Regions from separate parts of the Homo sapiens genome. Here region 1 is linked to region 2. The links are contacts of gene promoters, found by promoter capture Hi-C in blood cells and fetal thymus (Javierre and others, 2016). All regions are on one chromosome and are shown on one strand. The core of a region is centred on a gene start or on the middle of the fragment in contact, and the rest is flanking DNA. Distances in the headings are between cores, read along the strand shown.

Evidence for each region. The method cuts DNA at HindIII sites, captures the fragments that hold promoters and counts their contacts. A CHiCAGO score of 5 or more calls a contact.
Region 1: a contact is called between a fragment that was not itself captured here and the fragment with the promoter of H4C7 in region 2, in 1 of 17 cell types (erythroblasts). The highest score is 5.5, in erythroblasts.

What each region holds. Positions count from the first base shown.
Region 1 is chr6:27,120,066-27,127,009 of GRCh38, reverse strand. No RefSeq gene overlaps it. Among named protein-coding and RNA genes, the nearest start is that of H2BC11, 9.3 kb to the left of the region's middle. The HindIII fragment of the contact is 5,298 bases long and covers 2,739-6,944 here.
Region 2 is chr6:26,244,971-26,251,401 of GRCh38, reverse strand. H4C7 (H4 clustered histone 7) reads left to right here and starts at 4,406. Exons shown (of 1, transcript NM_003547.3): 1 at 4,406-4,791. The coding sequence starts at 4,425. The coding sequence ends at 4,721. H3C7 (H3 clustered histone 7) reads left to right here and starts at 767. Exons shown (of 1, transcript NM_021018.3): 1 at 767-1,260. The coding sequence starts at 797. The coding sequence ends at 1,207. RefSeq lists enhancers at 1-38, 885-1,044, 1,345-1,714, 1,855-1,934. The HindIII fragment of the contact is 5,476 bases long and covers 1,788-6,431 here.

The DNA.
Region 1 (6,944 bases), core at 4,138-6,637, 870 kb before region 2:
ATCTACTTGGCAAAGATTCTCTTTTTGACCAAACTCTAGGCGGCTTCTTCTGAGCCCTCTTCTGGACTAGGTGGCCACCTTGGTCTATAAAGACCTGAACAAACCCGAACATAGTTACTAATAGCCCCGGTCTTCTCAAGTGCCTGCCTGAGAAAACTCAATTGATGCCGCCAAAGGAATTTACTGTTTGTTTCAGTCAACGTCTGAAGATAGGGCCCTCGTCTCCCAGGCTCTGGTAGGAGTGGAGCCTGATTTTGATATGTGCCAGTTATGAAACCCAGATGGTTCCCCACTGTCAGTGGTTACTAAATAAAATCTGTTTTCGTCATTTAAAGTAAGGCCTGGTGTTTTATCTTTGATATACTACAATTAACCACTTTTATTCGTTTCCTGTGTACCTGTCTGGAATATCTTTATACAAACACAAATAAACAAATGTGTCCCCTTTCATTCACATTTGCCCCCTTTCATTCAAATGACTGATGGTCACATGTTCTTCACAGGTTCTGTCTCTTGCTTTTCTCATTAACTGTCTTTCTTATTGCAGGTGGAGTGGCTGAAACTTCTCAGCAGGCGCATCTACACTAGTGACCTGAGGAGAGAAACCCTAACCCCACAATGGCTGCATCTTCTCTGAAGACGAGACTGATGCTCATCTTTGAAATGAAGGGCAGTGTGTGCATTTCTCCATGAAGGTATCCAGAAACAGCCATGCCAGAGCTGCTGTGGGGTGGCTGAACTGCTATTCCTTTTCTAGGGTGGGATCCCCACTCTTTGTAAGGAAGGATATTGGGGTCCTGACACTGGGAACTCATCTTGTCAGTGAGGCCTTCTTTAACTGCTGTCTTGTAATTGAGCCACCCCATCTGTGTTTCCTGTTCCAATTTAGGACTTTTTTTTTTTTATCATAATATAAAGATCTGAAATGCTATGTTTTCCTTATTCATTGGCTTATTATCTTTACTATCCCATCCTCCACACTAAAAGTTTTTTCGAGCTGGATTTGGGAGTTGTGGGGTAGGTTATATTTTGATCACTTGTATTTCCCAGCTTCTAGAACAGTGCCCAGCAAAGTACTTCTCTGAATAAATGAATAAAGTAATATTCCTCTGCTCTGCTGTTGCCAACTGGAATATCCTGAGGGAAATTTCTTTACTTTCCTCAGGGGATGATCCAGAAGATGAAAAACAAATTGTCATTCCATATAGTCCTCTTCTGAGTGTTTTTCAGTTTTGTTAAAACTCAGATTTTTTCTTTTTACCTGAATGTTTTTTTGTTAATGATTATTAGCATATACAGTATTTTCTTTTATGTACCAAAAAAAGGCAATTGATACAGTGCATGACTTGAAAATATACCTGCCTTCTCTGAGGCTCAAATTCAGGACTGTATTATTTGGAAAGCCTTGTTGGGTTGTGGCTCCCAAGAAATCATACCTAATTTCCCTTCTTTGAGAGCACTGATTTCTGAGTTTCCATTTCTCCTAGAAGAGAAACATTGGCTTGTAAGAATTTATGTATCATCAATGCTTCCTTTTCCATCCTGCACTTAGAAGGACCCAAGACTTGAGGGCTGCGCTGTCAACACTATTCCTTGCTCACCCTCTCTTTTGTTCTAATTATTTATGTCTTCCCGCCTTCAGAAATATCAGTTGCTCTTTCACCAGCCATTGTTTCCTCTCTGGCCCTAGTGCAGAGTAGGTGACGTAGTACAGCTGAAAGGATGAATGCTGGCAAACTTGTTTCTAGCCTAGATTTCTCCTTATTTTAAATCTGCACTTGCAACCACATGGCCTGAGACACTCCTCTTGAAAATATCACCAAAAGGACCTTATTATAAAAAGTCACCGCCATCTATTCAGGGCTATGTATTAGGGGACAATAAAGTGTAAGTCATGGCCAGGCACGGTGGCTAATGCCTCTAATCCCAGCACTTTGGGAGGCCGAGGTGGGTGGATCACGAGGTCAGGAGATTGAGGCCATCCTGGCTAACACGGTGAAACCCCATCTCTACTAAAAATACAAAAAATTAGCCGGGCGTGGTGGCGGGAGCCTGTAGTCCCAGCTACTTGGGAGGCTGAGGCAGAAGAATGACGTGAACCCAGGAAGCGGAGCTTGCACTGAGCCGAGATCACACCACTGCACTCCAGCCTGGGAGACATAGGAAGACTTTGTCTCAGAAAAAAAAAATTGAGTCATTTACATTGTTTTATTTTATCCAACTTAATATTTTTCACAAACAGTTATCATTATCCTCATTTTAGAGATGAAGCTGAGACTCAGAGTAGAAAACTTCCTTAAGTCACAAGATTGATAAGTGGCAAAGCCAGTACTAGAAAGCAGAATAGTTTTGATTCTGAAATGTGCTCCTTCTCACGTATCAGCTCCTGTTCCCTCCACATTCCTTGTCCGCATGTACCCAATGGTACACTTGACACATATTTACAAATTTGTGCATTCCCACCCATTAGATATACATCTCCACCTCCAATGACTTACCAACTCTTGTAGATTATTCCCACACATTTGCTTTCTTTTCATTCATTCCTTCATGCATTCGTGGCACATAGCATTATGGAGGAAATCCTGTGTCACATGTATTCACTGCTGACTTCAGAGGCTGAAGGAACATGGCCTAGCATCTGGGGCCCTTCCTTGTTTGAAAAGTTTCTGGTTTCTCCACTTCTAGGCTCGCCATCTTCCAACCTTCCTGACAGATAAGAAATACACTTCAAAGCTTAGTCTGAGAAAGCAACTTCTCTACTCAAAGTTTTTCAAAAGAGCTTGTATCCTTTTAGTCTGGGTTTTAAACCATTACTTGTTTCTATATACATTTTTCCAGATAAGTTTTTAAAAATTATTTCTACCGGGCCAGGCACGGTGGCTCATGCCGGTAATCCCAGCACTTTGGGAGGCCAAGGCAGGCGGATCACGAGGTCAGGAGTTAGAGACCAGCCTGGCCAACACAGTGAAACCCCGTCTCTACTAAAAATACAAAAATTAGCAGGGCGTGGTGGCGGGCACCTGTAATCCCAGCTACTTGGAGGCTGAGGCAGGAGAATCGCTTGAACCTGGGAGGCGGAGGTTGCAGTGAACCAAGATTGTGCCATTGCACTCCAGCCTGGGTGACAGAGCTAGATGTCATCTCAAGAAAAAAAAAATTATTTCTACTTAGAATGTATGTTTCATGCCCAACTAAAGAGGTTCTTCTCTTTTCCTCATACAGAATATCCTATTTCCATGCCTGGAACCCCCTACTCCCTATTCTGTCTTCAGTTTCATCTTCTAATGCCCATTCTTGATCCCTTTGATCTATTGCTTTTTTCTAAACTCTCACAGTTCTTTAAGCCTGTTTTGCATTTTTGCTCTTCCACCATGTGCTTTATGTGGCTTCTTTTCTGAACATTTCCATCTCAAGAATAGTAAGTATCACATTGTAACCTCACACACTGTTGACACGAGTAAACTTCAGTCTGTTGATTTGTTCTGTGAAAACAGTGGAAATAACTGGTTTTCCTGTCTTTTCTTTCCTTCTTTTCTTTTCTTTCTCACTCTGTCACCCAGGCTGGAGTGCAGTGGTGCAATCTTGACTCACCACAACCTCCGCCTCCCTGATTCAAGCAATTCTGCCTCAGCCTCCTGAGAGCTGGGACTATAGGCGAGCACCACCACACTCCACTAATTTTTGTATTTTTAGTAGAGACAGGGTTTCACCATGTTGGCCAGGCTTGGTCTCAAACTCCTGACCTCAAGTGATCCACCTGCCTTGGTGTCCCAAAGTGCTGGAATTACAGGTGTGAGCCACTGCGCCTGGCCAGAGCTGGTTCTTTTTCTTTAGAGCGACTTTTTATAGCTGTCAAGGTAGAAAACAGAGAATTTCTTTATAACTTGCAATTTCTACAGTTGGCAGCCTCCTCTGCTCAGGCCTTGTCAATGTCTGGTTTTCCCACCCTCCCAGAAATGGGGTCTCGATCTATCACCCAGGCTGGAGTGCAGTGGCGTGATCATGGTTCACTGCAGCCTCAAACTCCTGGGCTCAAGTCATCCTCCTACCTCAGCCTTCCAAGTAGCTAGAACTACAGGTGTGTGCTACTACAATGACTAATTTATTTTCTTAGAGACGAGGTCTCGCTATGTTTCCTAGGCTAATCTCAAATTCCTGGCCTGAAGTGGTCCTCCTGCTTGGGCCTCCTGAGTCGCTGGGATTACAATACTGTCTAGTATGAAGGAAGTTTGTCTTGATATGTTTCCTGCTCAAAACAAAATGCAACTTGTCATTTTCAAACTCTAAAATTCTTCTGGTGTGTTTTAAAATGTCTATACTGTAATAGCAAATAAATTAACTTTTATGACAGGGAATTGTTGCTTTGTCATTCAACTTACTTGTCTGGTAAGCAAAATGCCTTGGGTTCAAGTCCTCACAGAATTTTGTTTTTGCATTGTGTAGCCTTCCCTGATACTCATTTCTTTCCATAAAACTGTCACCCCTAGATAAAGCCTCATTTGCTTCATCTTGTAGGTTTCACACCTAACCCATAAGCATTTGGATAGTTGGGAGAAGCTATAATGGTATATCATTTATTTTATAATAGTATGTAAGATTGATAATGGGACAAGTCAATAGCTTCCACATTGTGTTTAGGCTTTCCAGCAAAATTGGATTTAAATATCATATTTAAATATTTATATTTATAAACTTAAAAAATCAATTTTATGTAAAAAAGTTATATTGGAGTTTATCAAACTAATATACATATATATTTTCTTTTTGAGGCAGGGTCTGGCTCTGTTGCTCAGGCTGGAGTGCAATGATGCATTCTTGGCTCACTGAAATCTCTGCCTCCCAGGCTCAAGTGATCCTCCCACCTCAGCCTCCCAAGTACCTGGGACTATACCTGGCCAATTTTTTTTTCTTTTTTTTTTTTTTTTTGGTAAAGACAGGGTTTTTCCATGTTGTTGAGGCTGGTTTCGAACTCAAACTCAGGTGATCTGCCCATCTCAGCCTCCCAAATGCTGGGAATATAGACGTGAGCCACGATGCCAGGCACAAACTCATTTATTTTAATTTACTTTTAAATTAATCATGTTACAAAGTCAATACTTTAAAGTTTATAGATTTGAATTCTAAAACTTCTTTGTTTTATTGAGATTTATACATACATGGTAAAATATTTGGTTAACTCACCATGTTCTGTAAATGATGATGTCATTAGGACTAAAGTGTTCATCTGTACTTTTAAGAATTAAAAGAAGACATTGTTTTAGAAGACAATTTCAGGAAATGTTAATAATTTAAAATGTAATGGCCTTGGTTACTTTTCAGTTGCTTTTAGCTTATCTTTTTCCCTATTATGAATATAAGTTTTATGAATATTTTTGTGTATGTTTTTTGGTGTACATATGTGCCCATTTCTTTTGTTGAGACGGATTCTCAGTTTGTCATCCAGGCTGGAGTGCAGTGGCACAATCTCGGCTTACTGCAACCTCCGCCTCACAGGTTCAAGTGATTCTCCTGCCTCAGCCTCCCGAGTAGCTGGGACTGCAGGTGGGTGCCACCATGCCCGGTTAATTTTTTGTATTTTTAGTAGAGATAGGGTTTCACTATGTTAGCCAGGATTGTCTTGATCTCCTGACCTTGTGATCCACCCGCCTCGGCCTCCCAAAGTGCTGGGATTACAGGCATAAGCTACTGCGCCCAGCCTGTGCTCATTTCTTTTGAGCATATAATAGGAATGGAATTAACAGTTTTTAAGGTAACCATATATTTAGGTTTAGTAAACACTGACAAATATTTTTCTAAAATGTATAAACCAATTCAAACTCCTATAATATAAGATGATTTTAATTGCTTCAAATTTTTGCCTTTATCTTGTTAGGCTTTAAGTTTTGCCTTTCTGAATAGGATGTGTTAGTGATATCTCACTGTTGCTTTCATTTTCAGTTTCCTGATGAGTCATAATATTGTGTACCTATTCATATGCTTCATATACATTGAATGTCATTTAGTGGAAGAGAATGTTCATGTCTTTGCCCATTTTTAAATTATTTGTACTTATCGATTTGTAACAATTTTTTCCATATGGACTTTTCCATATGGACATATCATTGACCTAACTAACGTAATTTGTTGAAAAGACAACCCTTGCACTGCAGTGTTACCTTTCTCATGAATCAGGTGACTACACACATGTTTCTGGCTCAATAGCAATCATTCTCATTACCATAGTTTAAGATAGGGGTTGGCAACTTATAGTGTAAGTTCTCCAACTGTGTTCTTCTTTATAATTGGCTTTTCATTTTCATAGAAGTGTTAGAATCAGGAAGAAATACTTCCTAACTCAGAGGTCAACAAACTATGGCCCACAGACCAAATATGACCCACCACCTGATTTTCAAAAAAAGTGTTATTGGAACACAACCACATTCACTTATTTGTGTATTATCTATGTCTACTTTCCCACCAGAACAGCAAAGTTGAGTTGTTGTGACAGAGACCTTATTGTCTGCACAGCCTAAAATATTTACTATCTGGCTTCTTAAAATATTGGTTAACTTAATTCGTTCCATAGGGCAACATCATCTTGATACTAGAACTGGACAAATATAAACAAAGAAACTTATTGACCAATATCCTTCATGAACAGAGATACAAAGGTTCTAAACAAAATTTTAGAAAATTCAAATTCAGTAATATGTAAAAAGAATAATACATCATGATCAAGTATTCCTGGCTTTTCCAAAAAATGTAGAGTTGGTTAAACATTAGAAAAATCAATCAACATAATATACCATATTAACAAACTAAGAAATCTCAACAGAGGAATGTTACAAGAAAAACGTGGGACTGTAACATTTCTCCCAAACTCAGAAGGAACCGAGAGACCAAAGTATGACTTGGACAAGTTCAGCTTGATAAGTAGATGAGTTTATTAGGACTTATATACA
Region 2 (6,431 bases), core at 3,157-5,656:
ACTAATGCCTTGCCAGTAACATCTACCTATAAGTTCTGTCTCCTTAGGTGAGAATTTAAACAGAAACAAAGACGGATATTATGTTTCTAGTTTCCTACCAAATTGCAGCTTCCGGATTTAAAATTATCTATGAATAACTAATTCTAAAATGGAAATTAGCTAAAGATTTACGTGTTTCCAGAATTATACCATTGGCTTTCTTTTATAATCTGATCAAGGTCATTAGCATTCTTACATAAAAATTTAAGCTTTTTCAGTAATCAAAGGATGAACACATCTCAAGAGCGATGGGATTTTAATATCCCCTAGGAACGGAGTGTCTGGAAGTGAAACCAGTGTTTGTTGAAAGGTTCAGAATATATGAAATAGGGTACTTATATTAAAAATAAAATATTTCTTCAAAGTAAGAGTTTTTTAAAAAATATAAAGGAGACATTGAGCTGGACCAATCACTCTCAAACGCGGTATTTTTGAATCGCTCCGGAACTGCAGAACGTTCATTTCCGTCTGTCAAACATAATCCCAAACAAACTGATTAAAATAAAATCAATGAAGGTACGTAATACAGGTAGGCACATAAAACATAATAAAATGTAAGGAACTAGGGGAAAAAAGCATTTAGATAGGTTAAGATTTTCTAAAATGAGACCTAGTAGCTGATCACAAGTCCTATCACACTACATAATTCAGGGCGCGAAACTGGAAGATTCGGACCAATCAGAAGGACTTTGCCTTTATAAATAGGAGTAAGAACAACTGTTTGTTCAGTTGTGACCATTGCTTGAAACCCATTCCTATGGCACGCACGAAGCAAACAGCTCGTAAGTCCACTGGCGGCAAAGCCCCGCGCAAGCAGCTGGCCACTAAGGCGGCTCGCAAAAGCGCGCCAGCCACCGGTGGCGTGAAGAAGCCCCACCGCTACAGGCCTGGTACTGTCGCCCTCCGTGAAATCCGCCGCTATCAGAAATCGACTGAGCTACTGATTCGCAAGCTACCATTCCAGCGTCTGGTACGTGAGATCGCGCAGGACTTCAAGACCGACCTGCGCTTCCAGAGCTCGGCTGTGATGGCGCTGCAGGAGGCCTGCGAGGCTTACCTGGTGGGGCTCTTTGAGGACACCAACCTGTGTGCTATCCACGCCAAGCGAGTGACTATCATGCCCAAGGACATCCAGCTCGCTCGCCGCATTCGCGGAGAGAGGGCATAAGTTGTACTGAGGGTGTGCGCCAACTTAAACCAAAGGCTCTTTTCAGAGCCACCAACAATTTCAGTTGAAAGCGCCGTAGCACTAGGGAGTAATGTCTCCTAAAACAAGGAGGGTGGAGGGTTAGGGGATGGGGGCAGGGCCGGTGGCTCTTCTAAACTAGGCTTTTGTGTCTTGGCCATTGTCTTCAAAATGGCCGATAGTGGCGGCTCACGCCTTGTAATCCCAGTACTGTGGGAGCCCGAGGAGGGCGGGTTACTTATACAAAGGTCAGGAATTCGAGACTAGTCTGCCTAACATAGTGAAAACCCGTCTTCACTAAAAGTACAAAACCAAAAAACAAAAATACGGGTGTGGTGGCGCCCTCCTGCAGTCCCAGCTATATCGGGGGCTGAGGAAGGAGAATCGCTTGGACCTGGGAGGCAGCCGTTGAAGTAAGCCGAGATCGCGCCACTCCACTCCTCCATGGGTGACAGCGAAACCCTGTCTCAAAACAACAAAACAGAAAATGGTTGTGTGCTGAGGCAAAACCAAAACTACAGGGACAAAGGAAACAACTTGTTGACAAAAGTGTACGAAAGCTTTATTTGTGACAGTATGGGGAGTTAAATCATTATTATTCTTTTTGGCTTGCCCTGAGAGTTCATTTGAGACATCAACAGGAGAAACGGATACAAGTTAATATAATACAAATTTTACTTGGCATGGGAGCCTTCCAATTAAAACCCCGAGGTGCAGGTGAAGCTGTACACTATGCTCAGGGAAAACGGGGTTCAAGGAAATATTATTGCAACTTTTTTTTTTTTTTAGGCGGAGTTTCGCTCTTGTCAGCCAGGATGGAGTGCAGTGGCGCAATGCGGGATCCCGGCTCACTGGGACCTCCGCCTCCCGGGTTCAAGCGATTCTCCTGCCTCAGCCTCCCGAGTAGCTGGGATCACAGGCGTGTGCCACCACGCCCGGCTAATTTTGTAGCTTTAGTAGAGACGGGGGTTTCACCATGTTGGCTATGATTGGTCTGGAACTCCTGACCTCAGGTGATGTGACTCCTTGGCCTCCCAAAGTGCTAGGATTACAGGCGTAATCCACCGTGCCCAGCGCAATTTCTTGTTATTCTAGTAATTTAATCAGCCTGGCCAACATGGAGAAACCCTGTCTACTATAAATACAAAAAATTAGCCGGACGTGGTAGCAGGCAACTGTAATCCCAGCGACTAGGGAGGCTGAGGCAGAAGAATCACTTGAACCTGGGAGGTGGAGGTTGCAGTGAGCCGGGATCGTGCCACTGCACTCCAGCCTGGGCTACAGAGTGAGACCCCGCCTCAAAAAAAAAAAAAAAAAAAAAAAAAAAAAATCTAATTATTTCAAAATAATGTAGAAATAGGCTGTGATGGGATTGCTGCTTTTATTGCTTGGAATTCCATGGTTTATCAAGTTTGTTTGTTTGTTTTCCCCACAAATAGTTGTTTGCACTCTTGGCTTTTTGTTGTGGTGACCTGCTCATTAGGCCATAATTCATTTATGCAGTTACATGATTTTTTAGATATTGCTGACCCTGCTTCAAAAACCCATGATCTTTAGGACTGTTTGTTTGGTGCATCGTAACTGCACAATAAAAAATCCATTGTTATTTTGAACATTCTATTTTAGAGACATCATTTATTTCCACTTAAATGCTCTCGTTTAACTAGCTCAGCAAGTATTTTGTAATGTAAAAATTTAGTGGTGCTTATGTCTTTATTTTGGCTTGTGAGCAAATTCCCCTTTTCTCCTATTAACATTTATGACAGCTTTCCCTGAGTTTCCTGTTGTATCAACCCCAGAAGACAGTCACCCCCTGTACCTTCTGTCCTCCACATGAGAACAGGGCATGGAGCCTCTGGCAATTTACATTATCTTTTTTCTGGGCAATTCTTCATTGCTTAATTGTATAGTGCTTAATATAAGTGAAAGCACACTGAATGTATTGGTGTTGCAAAGGCAATGTTTTAAAATCCTTCGGTGTGCTTTACCTCTGCATTATTATTTTGTCTGTAAAAAAAGGCTGTGGCAATAAGAATTCGTTTACCAACTGGCCGGTGAGGTGGCTCACGCCTGTAATCCCAGCACTTTGGGAGGCCAAGGCGGGCGGATCACCTGAGGGCAGGAGTTGGAGACCAGCCTGGCCAACGTGAAATCTGGTCTCTACTAAAATACAAAAATGAGCCGGGAGTGGTGGCACATACCTGTAATTCCAGCTACTTGGGAGGCCGAGGTAGGAGAATAGCTTGAACCCAGAAGGTGGAGGTTGCAGTGGGCAGAGATTGCGCCATTGCACTCCAGCCTGGGCAACAAGAGCGAAACTCCGTATTTTAAAAAAAAATCATTTACTAACTATATGCCAGTGTTTTGCTTAAAGTAACTCAATTATTAACAAGTATTTACCCTTTTTACAGATAGGGCCATTGAAACTCAGATTAACATGTCTAATATCGGTGAGAGAGCAGTCACTCACAGATTCGAAACCAAAAACCAGGCTACTTCTCTTTAGCTGGGCGGCTTGGCAATATGATTAGGAATTCTTTTATGTCTTGGAATTTGGGCTTGTTTCAACTTCAGCATGGTAAATGCTCTAATATACAGGGAAGGAGTAAATCTTTTTTTTTTCTTTTTTGAGACGGGCTTCGCCCTTGCCCAGGCTAGAGTGCAGTGACGTGATCTCGGCTCACTGCAGGCTCCACCCCACGGGGTTCATGCCATTCTTCTGCCTCAGCCTCCTGCATAGCTGGGACTACAGGCGCCCGCCACCTCGCCCTGCTAATTTTTTGTATTTTTATTAGAGACAGGGTTTCACCGTGTTAGCCAGGATGGTCTCGATCTCCTGAGCTCGTGATCCGCCCGCCTCGGCCTCCAAAAGTGCTGGGATTACAGGCGTGAGCCACCGCGCCCGGCCAGGAGTAAATCTTTAAACACATACAGACATCAAAAATCGAGATACTTTCCTCTAGGTACATGTTTGACACTTTCGTTTAGAGATCCTTATTCTCTAAATGCCAGCAAATCTCCCTACTACAAGAGAATTTCTTATGTCTTGTTATTACTAGAAGTAGATGAGCGGGGACTGAATACGTTTTCCCGCCTTTCCTGGTCTTTCAGTTTTCAAAAAGGTCTACTCTACCGTTATATAAAAGGCTGCGGAAAGCGAGTAATCGTTTTGTTTAGAGATAGTTCTGACTTGTTTATCATGTCTGTTCGGGGCAAGGCCGGAAAAGGCCTTGGGAAAGGCGGTGCCAAGTGCCATCGCAAGGTACTGAGCGATAATATTCAGGGCATTACCAAGTGCACTATCCGGCGCTTGGCCCGGCATGGCGGTGTCAAGCGCATCTTGGGCCTCATTTATGAGGAGACCCGCCGGGTGTTCAAGGTGTTCCTGGAAAATGTGATCTGGTACGCCGTGACCAACACGGAGCACGCCAAGCGCAAGACGGTCACCGCCATGGCCGTGGTCTACGTGCTCAAACGCCAGGGAAGAACCCTGTAAGGCTTTGGCGGTTAAGTGAGGCCAGGCCTTTCCTTGCAATATCGTTAATGGCCCTTTTCAGGGCCGCGTACGTTTTCTTCCGAAGGGCTCACGTTTGACATTGTGGAAACTTAACTAACGCACTCAGCAATATTGTGTGTTTTATTGCTGTAGGTGCCCAAAAGCTGTTAGGTGTATAATGCTGTAAAGTATAAATTTACGCCAAGGCTGACATACAACATGGAATACAGGTGGTAAGTTAATCGTGTGTTCAGAGATTAGAAATCTGGTGGGCTGGCTGAGGACATCAACGGCTACATTGTCACTTAAAAGCTCTCAAAATGTGGTTATGGTAGTGTGTTTTTCTCCTTACTGTTAGGATTACCCTCCGTAATTAAAATTGTAGTTTTAGTGCCAAGATAACCCGACTTTTATATTCTGCTTAATAAGCAATTTCAATAACCAGAGAATACACAATAATTAGCACAAACTTGCCAGGTGCCGTTCTGACAAATGTGTCTGCAGTGGAGGGACTGGCCCCCTTGCTAGTTCAATGATCTAATTTAGCAGCACTAAAAGAAGTTTACCTGTTTCGTGCCTTTGCTTGTGATCCATCGTAAATATAGAAACACCTTGATAAGGTGTAACTGCAATAATTCGTGTCTCAATTTACTGTTTATGAAAGTACAGGGGTCAAAGAGCCAATTAAACATCTCAAGAGGGGGAAAAAACCTTCCAGAATGTGGAACATTTGGGACAATTGCTTTGTTCAAAAAGCCACCGAGAAAAACTGGAGGACTTTAAGTTTGAAGGAGATTAAAGTAACATAGCAACTAAATGTATTAATTGCATTCTGTCTCTAAAGTTTTAAAGGGCATTTTGGAGATAATCAAGGAAACTTGAACGTGAACTGGATAACAGGTCATTTTAGTAAGTTTTTAAAGAAAGGTTTGATATATTGAGATTACATGGAATTTCCCTTATTGTTAGGGGTTAGATGCTGAAGTGTGTAGGTGTAAATTCTCATGAGTCTGTCATTTACTTTCGGATGGTGGTAAAATCCACTCTATTGAATGTAGGTAGTGGATGACTGATAAACCCATCTTTTGTTATGTTTTATTCTGAATATTTTTATAATAAAAATTTGGGAAAAATTAACATAATAAACTGTTACAAACTCTGGTGCCATCACGGGAGAGGTCTCTGAACAGGTAAGTGTAAAAGACCTGTCTGCAGAGAGAGGATGCAAGTAGCAGGACACTGAGCCGCATGACACTTGTCATATGCAGGCACATTTATTCCTCTTGCTCTCACTCATCATGATCAGCTGTTAGCCAGAGGGGAGGGACATGGGAACAGGGCAGTTCAGGTACTGTTGGGAGAGGGTAGGTCTCCACTAGTGTGAAGACACAAGGGGCAATAAGTAGTTTGATGCCATGGAGACTGGGAATACATATATGACCAAAGATGCATGCCTGGCAGTTGCCTGATTGAGGAGGGCCTCCTCTTGCAAATTGAGAAACTGAGAATTAACCTTATGCTGTTGGAAGCATGTTAATGAGGTGTGACATGGAGAAACTTGCATTTAAGTTACATCAATTCTTTTGGATATTATGGCCATAAACTTTGTGCTGTGTAGTGAAAATATTGGGTTCTGCTAAGGTCAAGACAGGAAACAAGTAGCTTACTCACATGGGATAATTGGAGGAGGGTTTCTTAAAGAAATTATTT